Regions from separate parts of the Homo sapiens genome. Here all the other regions are linked to region 2. The links are contacts of gene promoters, found by promoter capture Hi-C in blood cells and fetal thymus (Javierre and others, 2016). All regions are on one chromosome and are shown on one strand. The core of a region is centred on a gene start or on the middle of the fragment in contact, and the rest is flanking DNA. Distances in the headings are between cores, read along the strand shown. Region 1 overlaps SOAT1 (sterol O-acyltransferase 1). Region 2 holds the start of RALGPS2 (Ral GEF with PH domain and SH3 binding motif 2). Region 3 has its middle 7.5 kb from the start of SOAT1.

Evidence for each region. The method cuts DNA at HindIII sites, captures the fragments that hold promoters and counts their contacts. A CHiCAGO score of 5 or more calls a contact.
Region 1: a contact is called between a fragment that was not itself captured here and the fragment with the promoter of RALGPS2 in region 2, in 1 of 17 cell types (total CD8 T cells). The highest score is 5.0, in total CD8 T cells.
Region 3: a fragment that was not itself captured here is called in contact with the fragment with the promoter of RALGPS2 in region 2 in 2 of 17 cell types (non-activated CD4 T cells and naive CD4 T cells); the score reaches 6.2 in non-activated CD4 T cells.

Annotation. Positions count from the first base shown.
Region 1 is chr1:179,311,841-179,314,627 of GRCh38, forward strand. All of the region lies in intron 2 of SOAT1 (sterol O-acyltransferase 1), which reads left to right. Among named protein-coding and RNA genes, the nearest start is that of SOAT1, 19 kb to the left of the region's middle. The HindIII fragment of the contact is 322 bases long and covers 1,110-1,431 here.
Region 2 is chr1:178,723,852-178,726,551 of GRCh38, forward strand. It overlaps RALGPS2 (Ral GEF with PH domain and SH3 binding motif 2), which reads left to right and starts at 1,393. Exons shown (of 20, transcript NM_152663.5): 1 at 1,393-1,568. It overlaps RALGPS2-AS1 (RALGPS2 antisense RNA 1), which reads right to left and starts at 2,433. Exons shown (of 1, transcript NR_187252.1): 1 at 1-2,433. RefSeq lists silencers at 1,167-1,321, 1,223-1,392, 1,653-1,772, 1,973-2,202 and an enhancer at 1,743-2,332. The HindIII fragment of the contact is 4,509 bases long and covers 1-2,700 here.
Region 3 is chr1:179,284,888-179,287,677 of GRCh38, forward strand. No RefSeq gene overlaps it. Among named protein-coding and RNA genes, the nearest start is that of SOAT1, 7.5 kb to the right of the region's middle. The HindIII fragment of the contact is 164 bases long and covers 1,228-1,391 here.

The sequences.
Region 1 (2,787 bases), core at 21-2,520, 590 kb after region 2:
AAATTGTCTCTGAATTTAAATGTGGACAATATAATTGACTCAGTGGGTTGAACTTTTTGAATAGGGAATGATTAAGACAATAATAGTTTGAAGGGTTAGTCTTGAAAAAGAGATGGGCTACTCTTTCCTCTGACACAGAAATGTTGGAGAAGAGGTTGAAAGACAGCAAAAATTAAGAAACATAGAAGACATTTAAGGATTTGGTACCAAAACTGAACAACTAAAAGTTACTTGGTGGGGCTGGGACTTGAAAGTGGAAAAGGTTTCCAACTACTTTTGTGAGGAATGTCACAGAAATTCATCAAGAGGCAGAGACAAAGATTGCATATTTTCATTGCTGGCCTGCCTAAGGCTTGACTGCAGCAGTTTAGAATGGGCCTATTTTCCTAACTTTTTCTGTAGCGCATGGCAATTTGGAATCAGAAGGCAGATAGCGGGTAATTTCTGGAGTCGGCGTGTGGCATGGTGGGTCCAGGAAATTGGTGGTGGTGATAAGGGACAGATAGAAATAATGACAGAGGGTTAGTAAGTCCGTGCTGGTTAAGAAAACTGGAAAACCAAAATGATGACTTCTATCAGAAGAGAAACTGTCTCTTTCCCTGTCTTTCTCTTTAGCGATGAAACCTTCGCTAGAAATTCCCCTACAGACTTCTCGTGTCTCATTGGCCAGAGTTAGATTACAAGTTATGCTGGCTATCTACCTTTTGCCTCTCCAGTCTTTTCTACGCTACTTTGTTTCCTGGGAGACTGACGTTAAGAACTGCAACAATAGTCTCCAGTGCCCTGTGTGTTTCTGGTAGGCTTGGCCAGTGGGAGAACTTCAGGAGATCTAAGAGCAGAGAGTAAGGTGGGTGTATTTATAACTAAGGTTCTCTCCCTGGTAGGTAACCATTGCTCCTTTCTAATATTTCTCTCTAAAGAGTTCTCTCTGGGTTCCACTAACCCTTTACCCGCTTTGCCCTTTCTGGCCTCAGGATGGTAACAGCTTTCCTGATGTTTATTACTAGCCCTAGAATTCCATATCATCCTTATTACCATCCTTTGTTGCTTTTCTTAAACTCTGACCACACACTAGAAAAAGGACCTCTTTAAATTTTTCCCAGTCAATAAGCTTGAGTGGGTCATCTCTTTGCTGTCTGATACTCAGGTCCATTTTTAAATCAGTTTCTCGCAAAGGCAGTGACATGCATGTCCTTATTTGGGAAGCAACCGGCAGTGTTCACCATGGCTGTGTTACATTATAAAAAATAATGTGTGTGTACTTGTCTGTTTTATTTGCCAACCAGATTTACAGTAAACTTGGCCATCTAGAACAAAGTTGGCAAACGTGGCCGTGTTCATTCTTTTGTGTTTGTAGTGCTTTCTCCTGTTATCACAGTAGAGTTGAGTAGTTGTTACATAGTTGCAGACTATACTGCCCATTACGGAAAAAGCTTTCTGACTCTTGATCTAGAATTACGTTGTTCAATATGGTTGCCACTAGAAGTACACTGTTTAATGTAGTCTGGTTGAGCACTTGAAATGTGGCTAGTCTGGATTGAGAAACACTATAGTTATGATATGTCAGATTTCAGAGACTTACTGGCACCCATTTCTTTTTACTTTTTAATGTGGCTCCTAAAAATTTTAAAATTACACATGGTGATTCACATTTTATGTGTATGTCTGTGTATATATGTGTATATATATATGTATATGTGTGTATATATGTGTATATATATATGTATATGTGTGTATATATATGTATATATATATTTTTTTTAGACAGAGTTTTGCTTTTGTTGCCCAGGCTGGAGTGCAATGGTGCTATCTCTGCTCACCGCAACCTCCGCCTCCCAGGTCCAAGCGATTCTCTTGCCTCACCCTCCCAGGTAGCTGGGATTATAGGCATGCGCCACCACGCCTGGCTAATTTTGTATTTTTAGTAGAGACGGGGTTTCCCCATGTTGGTCAGGCTGGTCTCGAACTCCTGACCTCCGGTGATCTGCCTGCCTCGGCCTCCCAAAGTACTGGGATTACAGGTGTGAGCCACCGTGCCTGGCCACACATTGTATGTTTATAGGACGACACTGATCAGGAATGTAACTGGTGGCCTAGAAAGTAAGTAGATAAGCTTCCCTTAGGCCAAAGCCTATTAAATACAATATTGTCAAGAAAAGAGAGCATGGCATTAAGAGGCATCTGACTGAGCTTCAGGCCTCAGAAAAATCCAACAAGTCTTCATGCTTCATTCCTTTGCCTGGAATAATGTTTCTAGCATTTGTTCACCATAATTTTTCTTTATTATTTGAGACTCAGTTCAAATATTGACTCCTGCAAAAGCCTCCTACACCCCTCATTCTCCCACAGCGCTCCTCTGTATTGTCCTTTTCCCTATTTGTAGTTTTCTCCTGAGATCCTGAAGGGAGGGTTTGCCCTGCATGTATTGGGTCCTCAGTGGGCTTTTACTTAATGCATGAGTATATAAATTGAGTAAATTAGTTACCAATTTAACAAGCCTGGTTATTTGTCTCTTTTCTTCTGTGTAGCTTTGGCGGTAGATTGACTATAGTAATAGAAGTGTACGATTGTTAGGGAGAACCCTGTGGAAGCAGCCTAGGTAGAAAGGCACAGCTCCCCAGGACTGCTGAGTGGGGCCTGATTGCACTCCACATTTCCGTTTTTGCTAAAGATATCACTATAATAGTATGGTACAACAATGGATCTCTCTTACTTGTTCCGAAGATTATGTAGGGTAAAGTACATTTTTGTTTTATTTTTTTGTAGAGAATGGGGGGGTCTCACTTT
Region 2 (2,700 bases), core at 143-2,642:
AAGCAACTAACATCTATGCGAAAACTTTCTGTATACATAATGCACTTCCCTCCTTTTTACCAATCATCTTCCTTTTTCTTTTCTTTTTTGGACTCTTGTCATTTGAAATATTGGGTGGGGGGGAACGCTTTTTTTCTTCTTTTGATTGCTCTACTTCTTCTAGTGATTTCGTCATGATTCAAGACTTTCTTTGAAAGTAAAATGGAATAAAAATGAAACACTACGAACTTTGTTGCCTATCCTCGCTGTTTTTCTTTTTGACTTAACTTTGCGTTGGGGTGCTTTAAAGTAACCCTATTTGAGAGAAGGAGGTTGAAGGGCATTCTAGCGTCCCCAACTAGAGTAAAAGGGCTATGACAGAAGGCAATCAAAGGAGGAAATAATTAGCAATCTTCAACGTTCAAGATTAATCAGTTCTGTTTAGCGGTTATTAAAGGGAAGAAAGAAACCAAATGGGAATAGTGAATTATTGGTCCTTTCATGTTTTACACTTAATGCTGGTACATAGTATTCTTTCCACATTCTACTGCACATTGCCTAGAGAAAGAACTGCAGATCATCAAATAATTATCCATTTCCAAATGGTCTAATGACAGCAGATACAAAGGCGGCTCACTTAAAACCTTCCGTTAACAGTCACACTGCATCAAATGGTGCTAGCTTTAAGTAGGCCACCCATTTAGTAGACTCTGAAACAACACCTTTCCGCCCAATTTCTGTCATTTGCTCCTTAAGTCAAGGGTAGTACCCTGCGTAACATCTTACAAAGGCCTACTTCTAACACTTCCCGAATCTTAATGTGTGAGGATGTTGATCACCATAATTTATGACCTTATCTAAGACAGTGGGGTGACTCTCCACATTGGGAGCCCCCTCATTTGTCCTCAGTGACTTCTAAAAACACCGCTGGCGTGGGCTGGATATTTGATCTTGGGGCCAAGTGCTTCCAGACTTTGTTCTCTGGCCTTAAAGGTGAAGAGCCCGGCGCTGAAGGCCACAGACATCACGGCGGATTTCACAGAGGGCCGCGTTCCGGGAGCGGGTGGCCAGGCGGTGGCGGACGCCCCACCTGTCCATCCTCCTACCCCTTCCCCCCCCCGTTGTTTGGCCGGTGGGAGCCCCTCCTTTCAGCAGGCGCCGGGCGGTGGGGTTGCGGATGGCTGCGCGCGCTGCGGGCACCGATCACCGGCGGCAGTTGGGCTCCGCGGGGCCGAAAAGCTGCGGGCGGGAAGCGCGAGGTTAAGACCCTGACGGCTGCAGCTCTCAGAGCCCCCGCGAGCGCGCTCCGTTGGTGCGCGCGCGCGCGCGGCTCCGCCCCGCCCGCTTGGCGCGCGCCCCCGCCAGGTCCGCTCTCGTCCCCCACCCCTGGCGCGGACGGGGTGGTTCCAGCTCACTCTCCTCCCCCGAGCGGCAGCGGCGGCGGCGGCGGCGGCTGCTGCGGGCGCTGAATGAGAGACGGTGACTGTTCGGGTCGACGAGTGCTACTCTAGGCGGCGGCGGCCGTGGCGGTGAAGCGTGAGGCCGGCATCGTCTTTCCGTCCTCTGAGGCGACGGCCGCGGCTGCACAGGTCGGTGGGCTCAGGCCGCGGGGCGGTGCGGGGGAGGGAGGGAGGGAGGGTGGGTACGCGGCGCCCCCCGGGCGGCGCGGGGAATGGCGGCGGCGGCGCTGCGGAGTGTGGCTCTCCCGGCCGCGGGCCCCGGGGCTGCTCGCCCTGCGCGCAGGGAGGGGGCTGCGGAGCTGGGGCTGAGGCTGAGGGAGAAGGGCGCTGGGCGGCGCGCCTCCCTCGGCCGCGGGTTCTCAGAGTCGGAGCGGCCGTGGGGTCCCCGCTCGGGGGCGCCGTCCTGAAGCCGGGGGCGCTGCGACCCCTTGAACCCGCCTCGCTCTCCCTCTTGGGTGGCGGAAGCCCCCAGCCTCCGCCCGCTCTGTTCTGGCGCCCAGCGGCGCCTCAGTCTTCCTTCAGGTGAGCCCGATCCCGGACCTCGGAGCCAGGACCAGCAGAAGCCGGGCCACACCCCCTCCCCTGGCCCTGGCGGCTGCGCCCAGAAGCCTGGCCGCAGAGTTGGCCGCCCGCGAACCCGCGGAGTCGCGGTCAGGGTGACCTGTTGCAGAGCGGCCCGCAGCCCGAGCGGCCCCCGCCAGCCCCGGCCCCGGAGGGGCTGCGTCCTGTGCTGGCCTCGGGCCGGGCGCGCGGGCCGGGTGTGGGGCAGGGGCCGCAGCCCCAGGTCGGCTTGCTCTACGGCCTGGAACCGGGCTCTAGAAAAAAAAGGAGATTCCGAACGTATCTCATCAAACACTTGCAAAGCCGGGAGATCTGTCTGCAAATATCCGGAATTCCATTGCAGTATCGGATTAGGTAGGCTCATAAACACCGTGCTTTTGAGGTGATTTGGAAGAAACGCGAGCCACGAGCGAGGAACTAGTTTCTGGAAAATAGCCGTAAACCTGTGCGGAGCGAATTATTAACCCCCCGCCCCAGCTCCCCCCTCGAAGCTCTTTTCCTGTAGCTGTGTGTTGTGTAGACGCAAGCCAGTTTCAGTGTACGTGGGCGTGTTTGGGAAGAAGCTGCGAGCTGATAGGAGGTACCTAGTACAAATGTTAATTTGTTTGAGTTGGGAGGGGTAAGGGAGGAGGAAGAAAGGGCACTGATGTTAGCTGTGGAGGAGGGGCAATTGAAATACTAAATTTCTGTTAAAAAAAAA
Region 3 (2,790 bases), core at 60-2,559, 560 kb after region 2:
TATAGGTCACCAATAAAGCCCTTAAAAAATAATATCAATACCAAGAGTGAACTGTAATGTAAACTATGAACATTGGGTGATAATGCTGTGTCCACACAGGTTCACCAATTGGAACAAATGTACCAGTCAGGTGGGGGATTTTGACAATGGGGGAGGCTATATGTACACTTATGGGGGTAGGTGGTACGTATACATTCTGCTTAACTTTCCCATGAATCTAAAGCTGCTCTAAGCCGTGGGGGGTGACTCAATCCTGTAATCCCAACACTTTGGGAGGCTGAGGTGGGGAGATCACTTGAGTTCAGGAGTTCAAGACCAGCTTGGCCAAGATGGTGAAACCCTGTCTCTGCTAAAAATACAAAAAATTAGCCGTGTGTGGTGGCACACACCTGTAATCCCAGCTACTTGGGAGACTGAGGCAGGAGAATCACTTGAACCCGGGAGGGAGTGGTTGCAGTGACCCAAGATCGTGCCACTGCACTCCAGTCTGGGCAACAGAGCCAGACTCCTTCACACACACACACACACACACACACACACACACACACACACACAAACAAACCTGGGTCAGGCGCGGTGGCTCATGCCTGTAATCCCAGCGCTTTGGGAGGCTAGGTTGGGAGGTTCACTTGAGATTGAGAGGTCAGGAGATCGAAACCATCCTGGCTAACACAGTGAGACCCCGTCTCTACTAAAAATACAAAAAAAATTAGCCGGGCGTGGTGGCAGGCGCCTGTAGTCCCAGCTACTCAGGAGGCTGAGGCAGGAGAATGGTGTGAACCCAGGAGGCGGAGCTTGCAGTGAGCCAAGATCGCGCCACTGCACTCCAGCCTGGGCGACAGAGCAACACTCTGTCTCAAAAAACAAAATAAAAACAAACATACTTTAAAAAATAAAGTATGTAGGCCTGGCATGCGTGGTGGCTCATGCCTGTAACCCCAGCACTTTGGGAGTCCAAGGCGGGCAGATTACCTGAGGTCAGGAGTTTGAGACCAGCCTGGCCAACATAGTGAAACCCTGTCTCTACTAAAAATACAAAAATTGGCCGGGTGAGGTGGCAGATGCCTGTAATCCCAGCTATTCAGGAGGCTGAGGCAGGAGAATTGCTTGAACCCGGGAGGCAGAGGTGTTGCAGTAAGCCAAGATCATGCCACTGCATTCCAGCCTGGGCGACAGAGTGTGAATCTGTCTAAAAACAGTGTATTAAGAAAAATTCACAAATGCAAAAGCTTCAGTGAAAAAATTCAATATTTGAATGTGTTTATATTCATAAAGAATTCTATGAAAGAGTGGACACCAACATGTTAAAGTGTTAAAGGTGATTATTTCAATTTTGAGTGATTTTTATTTTCTTCCTTAATAATCGTATATGTTTTTTGAATTTTTCAGCAAGCTTGTGGTTTCGTTTATTTGTTTGTTTTTTGAGACAGAGTCTTGCTCTGTTGCCCAGGCTTAAGTGCAGTGGCATAATGTTGACTCATTGAAACCTCTGCCTCCCGGGTTCAAGTGATTCTCATGCCTCAGCCTCCCAAGTAGCTGGGATTACAGGCATGCACCACCACGCCCGGCTAATTTTTGTATTTTTAGTAGAGATGGGATTTTGCCATGTTGGCCAGGCTGGTATCAAACTCCTGGCCTCAAGTGAACCACCCAACCTAGCCTCCCAAAGCACTGAGATTACAGGCGTGAGCCACCGTGTCTGGCCAAGCTTGTGTTATTTATCTAATAAGGAATAAATCTGTCTTCCTCATGGAAATAAAAACAATACATATTAGGCTAATAAAGAAAATTAGCCCCTTCCTTTGGAGAAAGGAATAAATTCTGGTAGTAATGTCAGAAAAGATGAACTGCGTCATTGGCAAGCACAGCTGTGTGGCAGTTATTCCATTCCTACATGGGACAGTCAGATGGTAGTATCCATTCACCAGTGGTGCTTGAGAAACTCTTGATGCTGTTTCCTTATATGTGTACATCTTTGAACTATCATTACACTTCTGGTGGTGCCTAGAATGTACTTTGCTATTTAGAGCTAGAGAAAATCCATGTAGGCAGGATGGATTCTCTTAACCAGCATAGATTACTCTCTCCCTTGTATATAAAGACTTCTGCTTGCAGAAAAACAAGTGATGATATAGCTTGAAAGATGATGACTGGATCAGCTGGGAGCCATAGCTCACACCTGTAATACCAGAACTTTTTGAGGCCAAGGCAGGTTGATCACCTGAGGTCAGGAGTTCGAGACCAGCCTGGCCAACATGGTGAAACCCTGTCTCCACTAAAAGTCTAAAAAATTAGCCAGGCATGGTGGCACATGCCTGTAATCCCAGCTACTCAGGAGGTTGAGGCAGGAGAATCACTTGAACCTGGGAGGCGGAGGTTGCAGTGAGCCAAGATCACGCCATTGCACTCCAGCCTCAGCAAAAAGAGCAAAACTCTGTCTAGAAAGAAAGAAAGAAAGAAAGAAAGAAAGAAAGAAAGAAAGAAAGAAAGAAAGATGGATGGATGAATGGATCACTGAGAGGAGGAATGTGTCTGACCCCTGTTGTCTTTGAGGTTGACCCACACTCTAGGACCTCATGCTTTCAGTTGCTTTCTTAATTCATTCAATCCCTTTATTGGGTAACCTATAGGTATTGCGTTAGGTGCTTTGGGAGATAAACAAGACAGGATTCCAGCCCTTCAAGAGTTTTCAGAAACATTTCAATGAAGGTCTATGTCCTGGTTTACACCCTTGCCTCATTGTCTTACTCAATCACAAAACCTTAACTCCAGATTAATCTGCTTTCCCTA